Linked DNA regions of Homo sapiens: all the other regions are linked to region 1. Evidence: promoter capture Hi-C in 16 types of primary human blood cells and fetal thymus (Javierre and others, 2016). All regions are on one chromosome and are shown on one strand. The core of a region is centred on a gene start or on the middle of the fragment in contact, and the rest is flanking DNA. Distances in the headings are between cores, read along the strand shown. Region 1 holds the start of TRPM8 (transient receptor potential cation channel subfamily M member 8). Region 2 holds the start of UGT1A3 (UDP glucuronosyltransferase family 1 member A3). Region 3 holds the start of UGT1A6 (UDP glucuronosyltransferase family 1 member A6).

Region 1 (2,808 bases), core at 139-2,638:
TGCCTCCATGTCTCAGTCACCACCAGGAGAGAGCTGAGATTTATTTTGTTGTAGGCATTATCCTGTTTTTCTAATTGCCTCTATCAGCCAAATTTTTTTCAGTTTGAATAGATGGATGAAAACTAGGAAAATAGCAAAAGCCAGTGGAGGCTCCCGAAGTCATTGACCCCAAGGTATCCTGCTCCAAAAAGTAGAAGTGAGAAACAGGAGGTAGATACAGGCAGCAGGTGATGCTCCAAGATGCTATTTGCTGAGACCCTCTTAGAATAAGAGGAAAAGCAGGGGTCCCTATGCAGCCTGGACCCCTACTGTCTTCACAGGTGCCAAGAATGATATCAGTTCTTAGGCAAAACAAAGATAGTGATAATTATTATTATAAATTGTAATGTAATTATAATTTATAATGTAATTATATTATTTCTATAACAATTATATTATTTGTAATATAATTATAAATATCTTATTAATAAATAATAATAAACAGCTTTTTTCCAAATTATAAATAAATATGCATCCAAAGTCACAACCTTGGAAGTAAGTCCTTTGCACTGTCAAGATTTTGACAAGCTAAAACTTCTCTCATGATCAGTATCTTTGTATTAGCACATATAGAATAGTCTTAAGGAATAACCATTTCCTTATGTTCAGCTCAAGAATCCTAACACTGAAAAAGTCAGCACTGGCAATAATGGATTGAAAATTAAATGGAAATAAAACCTTTAATTATTCATCCAGCCCTTCAGTGTTTCTCTCTTGCTTATAAATAATACAAATGATGAGCCTGTTTCAACAGGCTGGAAGAACGGAAGGAAACACAGTATGTAAAAACAAGCTAAATATACCCGCTCCTTTCATTATCAAAGAATATTTACTATTTGAATGCATTATTTCTTGATGTTAATTTACATTTCACCATAGTCTTGATTCAAGAAAAAACTTGTTTTATTATGTTCCCAATAGGATTGCTTCAGATAGTCAGTTGCAGAGTTCAGATGCCAGTGAATTTTTCATTAAAGCTCATTTAGGGAGTTTCTAACTCCTTCAATCAGAAACAGAAAACTGTAATTATATTTAAAGTCATTCAAAAATTCAGCAAATAATTCTACATTTCTAAATAAATCTAAGTGAGGATTAGATATATCTGTGAACCCGCATTTGCTTATGCCCACAACACTTTGAGGAATTTAAATTTTTGTCTTCCTTTAGTTTCAAATCTTCATAGAAAAACTAAATGATGCCCCTCCCAGAGACACAAACTCGTACTATTCTACAAGTTACAGCAATGGCAACATTTAAGGAGAAGCAAAAAGCAAAAGTTGATGACATACCCTAAGTGACGGTTTTTGTCAAGCAGGATTTTCTTTCACCCAAGGATCCTGCTGGTCTCTCCCCACAGGAGGAGGAAAGCTTTTATAACTGGAATCTTCTTAGCCCCGCCTTCTTCTCTGAGGTTCTTTTAAGCAGAGGAACAAAAAACTTAAGCCGCTGAAATTGCAAGAAGACTCCTAAAGCCTCCAAGCATAGCAGCAATTTAGCAGTGGAATACGAGTAGGGAATGGATAATTAGTGAACATGGTATTTTAAATGCTAATAAAGAAATGATACCAAATTCCTGCTCTTAGCTTGACAATAACACCATAGTATGAAATCATACTAATACTTAATTTCTGCAATTAATGGCACATTTTAAAAACCACAAATAAAATGGGAAATGCTCATTATAGAAAGTGATGACAAGATTAATTAATAAATTAAAAGCTCTTAATTAAGATTAGGAAAAAAATTATTAAATAGAGGAAATTTAACCAACATTGCTTTTTTGCAGATTTTGTGAACTTTCCTCATACCAACTAAATGCAGTATTGGGCCAGGCAAGAGGGCATCATGGAGGTGAGCAAATCCAGCTTCATTAATTTACAGCTATTTCCTGTCCCCTTTAAACTACACTTTGGAAGAGCTCTCCTCGAAGAAATAAGTAACAATTGTCAGTGGGCAACTTTCGGTCATTTTACTTAAATCACGTGCCACAAACATAACAGTTATATTATAACTAATGTTCCTCTGTTTTGGCCATTATTTCTATTTTATTTTCATATGAAGCATATGTCATAGAGAAATACAAATAGGATAGTGTATTTCAGGAACTGATTGCACAAGACATACACTTGCAAAAAGGTTAGAGATGAAAGAGAAGGAGTGTGAAGGGGTTTTTTGCAAAGGCAGAGAGATTTGAGCAAGGTCTGAAAGGAAGGATAGGGTTGTAGTGATAACTCCTGCAGAAAGCATGTTCAATTCAAGAAGAAAACCCCCTTAACAAAGAGAGACAAAAGACTCCAGACAGAGGTCTCAAACTCAAATATTCCAAGGCTCAGACAGGTCATAAAGATGAAGGGAGCAGCCAAGTGTTAGGTAGTAAGTAGGGAAGGGTGGGGGCTGTGGAAAACTGGAAATGATAGATTTGAATGAGGACCCGTGAGAGAAGAGATCCAGCTAGAAATAGAGAGAGAGAATCAGAGAAATCTCAGAATTACTCTAAATATGGGTCCTAGGACTAAAAACTCCCATACCCAGCATGGTCCCCAAGCACATATATAGCACTGCACAGGGGAGCAAGTCCATCTGAGGAGCGGAGCAGCAAAATGAGCTTTTTAGCTGTTAGAAATATTGAGCCAGCTGGGTGCAGTGGCTCATGCCTGTAATCCCAGCACTTTGGGAGGCTGAGGCGGGCCGATTGCTTGATGTCAGGGGTTCAAGACCAGCCTGGGCAACATGGCAAAACCCTGTCTCTACTAAAAATACAAAAATTAG
Region 2 (2,927 bases), core at 134-2,633, 190 kb after region 1:
TAAAAATTATCATGTCAACAATTGTAATTTACTGTTGCATCATCTTTCCCCTGAAAATCATGCTAGCAAAAAATCCAGGATGGATCAGTTCCAAACGTAGTGTCCCTGTTCCTGCCAAGCTGAAGGACATGCACAACCATGAAGATGGTGCCTTTACAAACCAACAGTCTCTATGAGTCACACCAGTCCTTGTCCATCCTTTTACAAACATTCGTGTCTACTTCCTCTTCCTCTCAGTGACCATTTAAAACCTGAAATACGCTACTAGAGACCCCTTAACAGTTTATCTCACTGAAGGCTATTATGACAAGGAGAAGCAGAAATGAAATATTTGGAAAGATAAGTAAATATGGAAGCAATTTTAAATAAATACATTTTTTTAAAAAGTGTTTTGCCTGGAACATTGATTGGATGAAGGCACCAATACAGACCTGAGATAGTGGCTTCCTGTTGGCACAGTTGATGCCCCCAATGAAGACCATGTTGGGCATGATTGGCCTGGGGTAGTCCATCACAAAGTCCCCTCGGAACAGCCACACAGATGCATGACTGAGAATATCCACCACTGACACCTCTCTCTGAAAAAGCTCAGAGGCAAGGCTTGCATAAGGAGCAGAAAAAGCATGGCAAATGTAGGACAGGGCCAGAGGGTAGAGCATGTTCTTGACCCTTTGCATGAATGTCATGTGGTCTGAATTGGTTGTTAGTAATCTAGGAATATAGGAGGAAGGGTTTGGACACTGTGTGCCCTTAAAGTCTAAATCACATGGAATGTTCCTCAAAAAAAACACAGTAGGAATCGACAGGTACTTAGCCAGCACTGCCGCGCAGAGGTTAACGGGGTCTGTTAAAACCACATCAAAGGAAGTAGCATTCAGGTGCCTGATCAGGGCCTCATTATGTAGTAGCTCCACACAAGACCTATGATAGACCAAAGACATATTGTTCAACATTGCCATACTTCTGAAAAATTTCTTCAGAAAATGTTCTGTTTCAAAGTACAGTTGAGTGTGGCCCAGCACATGGCGATCAAATTCATCCTGGGTCCACGAAATGGCATAGGTTGTCAGGGTGAAAAAGTTCTCTTCTTTGATGTGCATATTCACCTCTGGGGTGAGGACCACTGCCTGGTGGCCTCTGGCATGGAGCTCCCGCAAGACCTCCCGCATGCTGAGCCAGTGGCTGCCATCAATGGGCACCACCAACACCTTTCCACTCTCAGCCCAGGGCTGGACACTGAGGAGAAGCAGCAGTCCTGTGGCCAGCCACGGCAGGGGAACCTGGAGTCCTGTGGCCATCTCAGCAGAAGACACGGACAGCTGACTGTCCACCCCACGCTGTGCCTGCTACATTTGCTTTCTTCATCTTAATTACCTTGTCACTGAGCCACTTAGCAAATCAACGTGTAATTGGAAGACAGAGTGCCCTCCTCTAGTTAATTATTAACCATTAATCTATCACTGTTTTTCACTGTGGGCCCCACCCTGGAAAAGACCGATCATGACTATCTTGAAAAACACGTCTGACCCTGTGCTCACTCTGGGGAACATCCAAGTTCAAGCTCTTGTTTCTCATCCAATTCCCAACACAAGGCTGTGAACACCCATTTCATGTCACTGTCTCCTACTTCTCTGTTAACCATGTTTATCAGGCAGCAGCTGAGGTCTGAGGAGTCACCATTGCCCTAGCCCCCAGTCATATGCTCTCTGCTGGATGTGACCCTATTTGCTAACCCTTGAAACTTTCTTCTCATGTATGAGTAACGCAGCGCATCCAAAAACCATACAACATTGCTAAGCCAGCTTTCTCTGAACAGCGTGGAGGCTGGCTATGTGGTTTTGGTCGTTTTTCGCACCAGGATATTTCTTGTAAGGATCAGAGAGGACTCTCTCTGAAGTGGCTGTCAATATAGAAAAAGCTGCAGGGAGGCTGAGCTCAAGATGTGATGATCAGATTCTTGGGAAGACTTTGTTGAGGATTCTCCATATACACCATGGAAGAAGAGGTGCTGCTATCTAAAGCACACATGGGCAAGACAACCCTAGCAAAGACCCATGGTGGGTTCAGGGAGCTCCTGCTCACCAAGGGACTGGGGGAGCTGGAGCCTGGCCTCAGATCTTGCACAGTCTGAATTCCTCTTCTGAATGCCGAAGGCTCCAGTCTTTATTTCAGTCATCCAGGCCTTTATTTCATCCTGAAGATTATGGTCAGGCTCTTCTCCAAGTCAATCCAGCACCAAGTTCTGATAAGAATGGTTCCTCCAGAACAGAATGGGCTGCACAATTTGTGGGGGCCCTAGTCCAAATTTCAAGATGGAGAATTAAATATGTGCCTTTCTAAAGGAGAGACCCTGAGCACTCACAAGGGCCTCAAGCCCAATGAGGCTTATCCTACTCCAGAAAGTCACTCCCACATGTGCTGTGCTCACAAGATTGCTGATGCCACCTTGTCCTGGTCACCTCAGGATGATGTGGGCAGGCTGTCTGGGGTGTGCACTTTCTATCTCACTGCCCCTGTGTCTTCTTGCCTGGCCGTGTCTGCCATTGCTGGTGAGGCTGAGGCTTCCCTTAGGGAGGAAATTACTCCACATTGATAACAGATTCCACCTTTGGACAGAACCCATGGGACAGGCAGTGAATGGAAGCGTCTACTGGGGGACACCCAGCTCAAGGGCAGCACACGCAGGATGGCACAGAAAAGGAAGGTCTGCAAGGGCTTTGGGAACTGTCCAGTAGAGGATGATTCCTGGGAATTTGTAAGGACATAGAGCACTAGAAAGGGATTCTCAGCTGTGGGTGCAACCTCTCAGCCTCTGAACTATTCCTCCAACCCCCTTAAAACTATATGCTTCCTAAGCACCCTCATGATGAGCCCAGGTGACGGGTGGAACACGCCTGGTAGTGTGCTCTTCCCACATTCATGGGCTC
Region 3 (3,071 bases), core at 326-2,825, 220 kb after region 1:
CCTTTTGCTGAAAAGGCCAGTCAGTAAATGTGTAGGCTTTGCAGACCAAATACTTCTGTGGCACATATTCTTCATTGTTAAATTGTTTTAAAACTACAAAAACCATTCTTAGCTCTGGGCCATATAAAAACAGGTCTCAACATAAAAGGAAAAAAAAAAACAAAAAACAGGCCTTTGGGCAGATTGGGCTCACAGGCTGTAGTTCGCTGGTCCCTGGCTCAAGGTCCAGAGACAAAGCATGGGACAGAGTTGGGAAAATGGATTTTAACCTGGACCTGTTCCCTTAGTCAAGCCTTCACCTCTGTTTGAACTGGGACATTTCTAAGGCTCATTCAATGAGTATGTGACTGTCCCAGATTATCCAACTAAGCAAATCTCCTACTCTTGCCAAGCATGAGCCCTGTCTTCATCCGAATGCCTCTGTATCACTTCAGCCTCAGGTCTCCTATGTGTTCCCGCTGCTCCGAGCCGGGTATCACTTCCCCCCACCGTTTCTCCAGGAAATCCTCCAAGGGACAGTCGGCTCAAGGAGCCAAATGAGTGAGGGAGGACAGAGCCTGGAAGAAACAAGGCAGTCCAAAAGAAATAAACCCACCAACCTGAGACAAGTCTTTCCTCTTCTTACAGTTGATACCTCCAATGAAGACCATGTTGGGCATGACCGGCCTAGGATATTCAAGCACAAAGTCATATCTTAACAGCCAAACAGAGACCTTCTGATATAAGGTGATTATATCCACATCTCTCTTGAGGACAGCTGATGCGAGTTCTTCATACTTTGAAAACAGACAATAAAATAGATAGGGCTCCAACAAATTAACAAGGAAGTTGGCCACTCGTTGGGAAAAAGTCATGTGGTCTGAAAACTTTGTGTAGCACCTGGGAATGTAGGACACAGGGTCTGGGCTTCTGCTGAATGTATGCTCCAGGGAACACGGAAAACCCCTGAAGAGGTACACAGATGGTAGGCCCAAATACTCAGCCAGGATCACCCCACAGGGTAAGGCTGGGTCTGTGAAAAGAGCATCAAACTTGCTCTCCTTAAAGAAGTTCAGGGTGTCCCTGTCCTGCAGGAGGCTCTGGCAGTTGATGAAGTACAGGCCAATAACAATCATGTTATTCCTGTACTCTGTCTGAGGAGCAGTTAGGAATGATCGCTCAGCAAAGTGATTGTTTCCAAATGATTGGTAACGGTTCTTCAGCTCTTCTTGGTCATACGGCACTGGATAGATTTTTCTTGTGTAGTATTTGGATTCTTTCAAAAGCAAATTAACTTCAGGCACCACCACTACAATCTCATGACCCCGGTCACTGAGAACCTCAACTATATCCTTCATACTAAGCCAGTGGCTTCCGTCCTGAGGGACCACCAGCAGCTTGTCACCTACAACCATGCCCCAAAGTGCTAAGAAGAAAACCCCTGCAGAAATTCTCTGAAATGAGCGAAGGAGGCAGGCCATCCTGGAAAGAGTTAAAGTAACAACGGTAATAAAGAGTTTTCACTCTCCAAATCACAGGGCTCCTAGGTATTTTCCCTAAACTAACCACTGCTTTTCACAGGTCCTGTCTACCTCTCCCTTGCTCTGAATTTTACCCTTTGATATGTAAGAACCCAAATTAATATTTAACCATTTTAATCACATGGTTAATATGAACCAACTATGGCCGTGTCAGCTTTCACCTGAGCTTCTGGGTGTTTCTCTTCAGCTCCACAAGTCTGCTTCTCCCTCTCTGAAAAGTTATAGCAACACTTTGAAGATGACTTGGAGAGACCCCTGAGGACCCCCTGCCAATTCTCTATCCCGAACTTGCTGGATTCCTCATCATTGACGTTGTCTGTTATGTCCATGATGTGCGGGAATTTTTCTTGCACACGGACCTATTCTCTAACACCAGCTGGGTATCCTACAATTCAATTCCATTCTGAACTGAATTCTGAGTTAGCACGGACCCCACAGGTTAAGGGCTCAGTCCTACAAGACTGCCCTCACTTCAGACACCAATTGCAAGTAGTAGGTCCCCAGGTTACCCACAACTTCTGTCTGACTTGGCAAAAATCAGAGGTTCACACACCCTCTTTCTTGGAGTCAATCATTTGCTAGAATGGCTCACAGAACTGAAGAAAACAGTTTATTTACTAGGTTTGGTTTATTACAAAGGATATTGCAAACAATACGGATGAATAGCCAGAGGAAAAAGTACAAAGAACAAGATATGGGGGTATGGCCATGGAGCCCCATCTGCCATCTCTGGGTGCCCCACCCTCCACACCTTCAGCAACCTGAAAGCTCTCTGAACCCTGCCCTTCTGAGTTTTTATGTAGGCTTCCATACATAGTAGGCATGATTGATTAGATTGTTGCCCATCGGTGATCAAATCAATCTTCAATCTCTCTCTCCTTTCTTCCCTCTAATCGCAAGGGTTTTGTTCCCTGGCAACTAGCCCTCATCCTTAGAGACTTTACATCTCCTTTACATAAACTTAGGTGTGATCGAAAGGGATCTGTTTTGAATAACAAAAGATTCTTTGTTCACGTTTATCGCTCCCACCACTTATGGTTTCAGGAGCTGTGTCCAGGAAACAAAGACAAACATATATTTCTTATTATACATCACAATATAACAACATTCAAACTGTTACTTGCCTTTAGGAAATTAAGATTTGAGAAGTATAAGTCTAGCCAGTACGTGGTGAGAATCCTAGAGCAGGAGTCAGAAAGCCTGGTATCTGCTTCTGGCCCAGCCACCCATCTGCCAGGGGAGTGACTCCTCTCCTGAGCTTCAGGTTTCTCAACTGAGGCCCAGAAAGGGAGGGTCACACTGGCCCTGCCTGCTAACCACACTGCTGAGGGCGGTCCCAGAGCAAGACCTGTGTAGAAACTAGGCTGTCCCAGTGAGAGGTGGTACCTTGAATTACTAGAACAGACTTGCCCAGAGCTAGTCATGCACACCTGGCTGGCACGCGAGTTCCTGTTCCCACCCACAAGTTTGGCACCGGAGGTGTTCTGGGGCCCAGGAAGGGAGAAGAAGCCTGAGCAACATGATTAGAGGGGCCACTCCAAGGACAGGGCT

What was found. Contacts are between HindIII fragments. The CHiCAGO score rates a contact against its expected background, and 5 or more counts as called.
Region 2: the fragment with the promoter of UGT1A3 here is called in contact with the fragment with the promoter of TRPM8 in region 1 in 4 of 17 cell types (endothelial precursors, neutrophils, total CD8 T cells and 1 more); the score reaches 8.4 in endothelial precursors.
Region 3: the fragment with the promoter of UGT1A6 here is called in contact with the fragment with the promoter of TRPM8 in region 1 in 3 of 17 cell types (M2 macrophages, M1 macrophages and endothelial precursors); the score reaches 6.7 in M2 macrophages.

What each region holds. Positions count from the first base shown.
Region 1 is chr2:233,915,953-233,918,760 of GRCh38, reverse strand. TRPM8 (transient receptor potential cation channel subfamily M member 8) reads right to left here and starts at 1,388. Exons shown (of 26, transcript NM_024080.5): 1 at 1,329-1,388. The HindIII fragment of the contact is 1,520 bases long and covers 1-1,409 here.
Region 2 is chr2:233,727,498-233,730,424 of GRCh38, reverse strand. UGT1A3 (UDP glucuronosyltransferase family 1 member A3) reads right to left here and starts at 1,383. Exons shown (of 5, transcript NM_019093.4): 1 at 432-1,383. The coding sequence starts at 1,298. All of the region lies in intron 1 of UGT1A8 (UDP glucuronosyltransferase family 1 member A8), which reads right to left. All of the region lies in intron 1 of UGT1A10 (UDP glucuronosyltransferase family 1 member A10), which reads right to left. The region is part of intron 1 of UGT1A9 (UDP glucuronosyltransferase family 1 member A9); the gene reads right to left. It also overlaps UGT1A7, UGT1A6, UGT1A5, UGT1A4 and UGT1A. The HindIII fragment of the contact is 4,368 bases long and covers 1-2,927 here.
Region 3 is chr2:233,691,394-233,694,464 of GRCh38, reverse strand. UGT1A6 (UDP glucuronosyltransferase family 1 member A6) reads right to left here and starts at 1,575. Exons shown (of 5, transcript NM_001072.4): 1 at 600-1,575. The coding sequence starts at 1,460. The region is part of intron 1 of UGT1A8 (UDP glucuronosyltransferase family 1 member A8); the gene reads right to left. All of the region lies in intron 1 of UGT1A10 (UDP glucuronosyltransferase family 1 member A10), which reads right to left. All of the region lies in intron 1 of UGT1A9 (UDP glucuronosyltransferase family 1 member A9), which reads right to left. It also overlaps UGT1A7 and UGT1A. RefSeq lists enhancers at 2,223-2,829, 2,830-3,071. The HindIII fragment of the contact is 26,798 bases long and covers 1-3,071 here.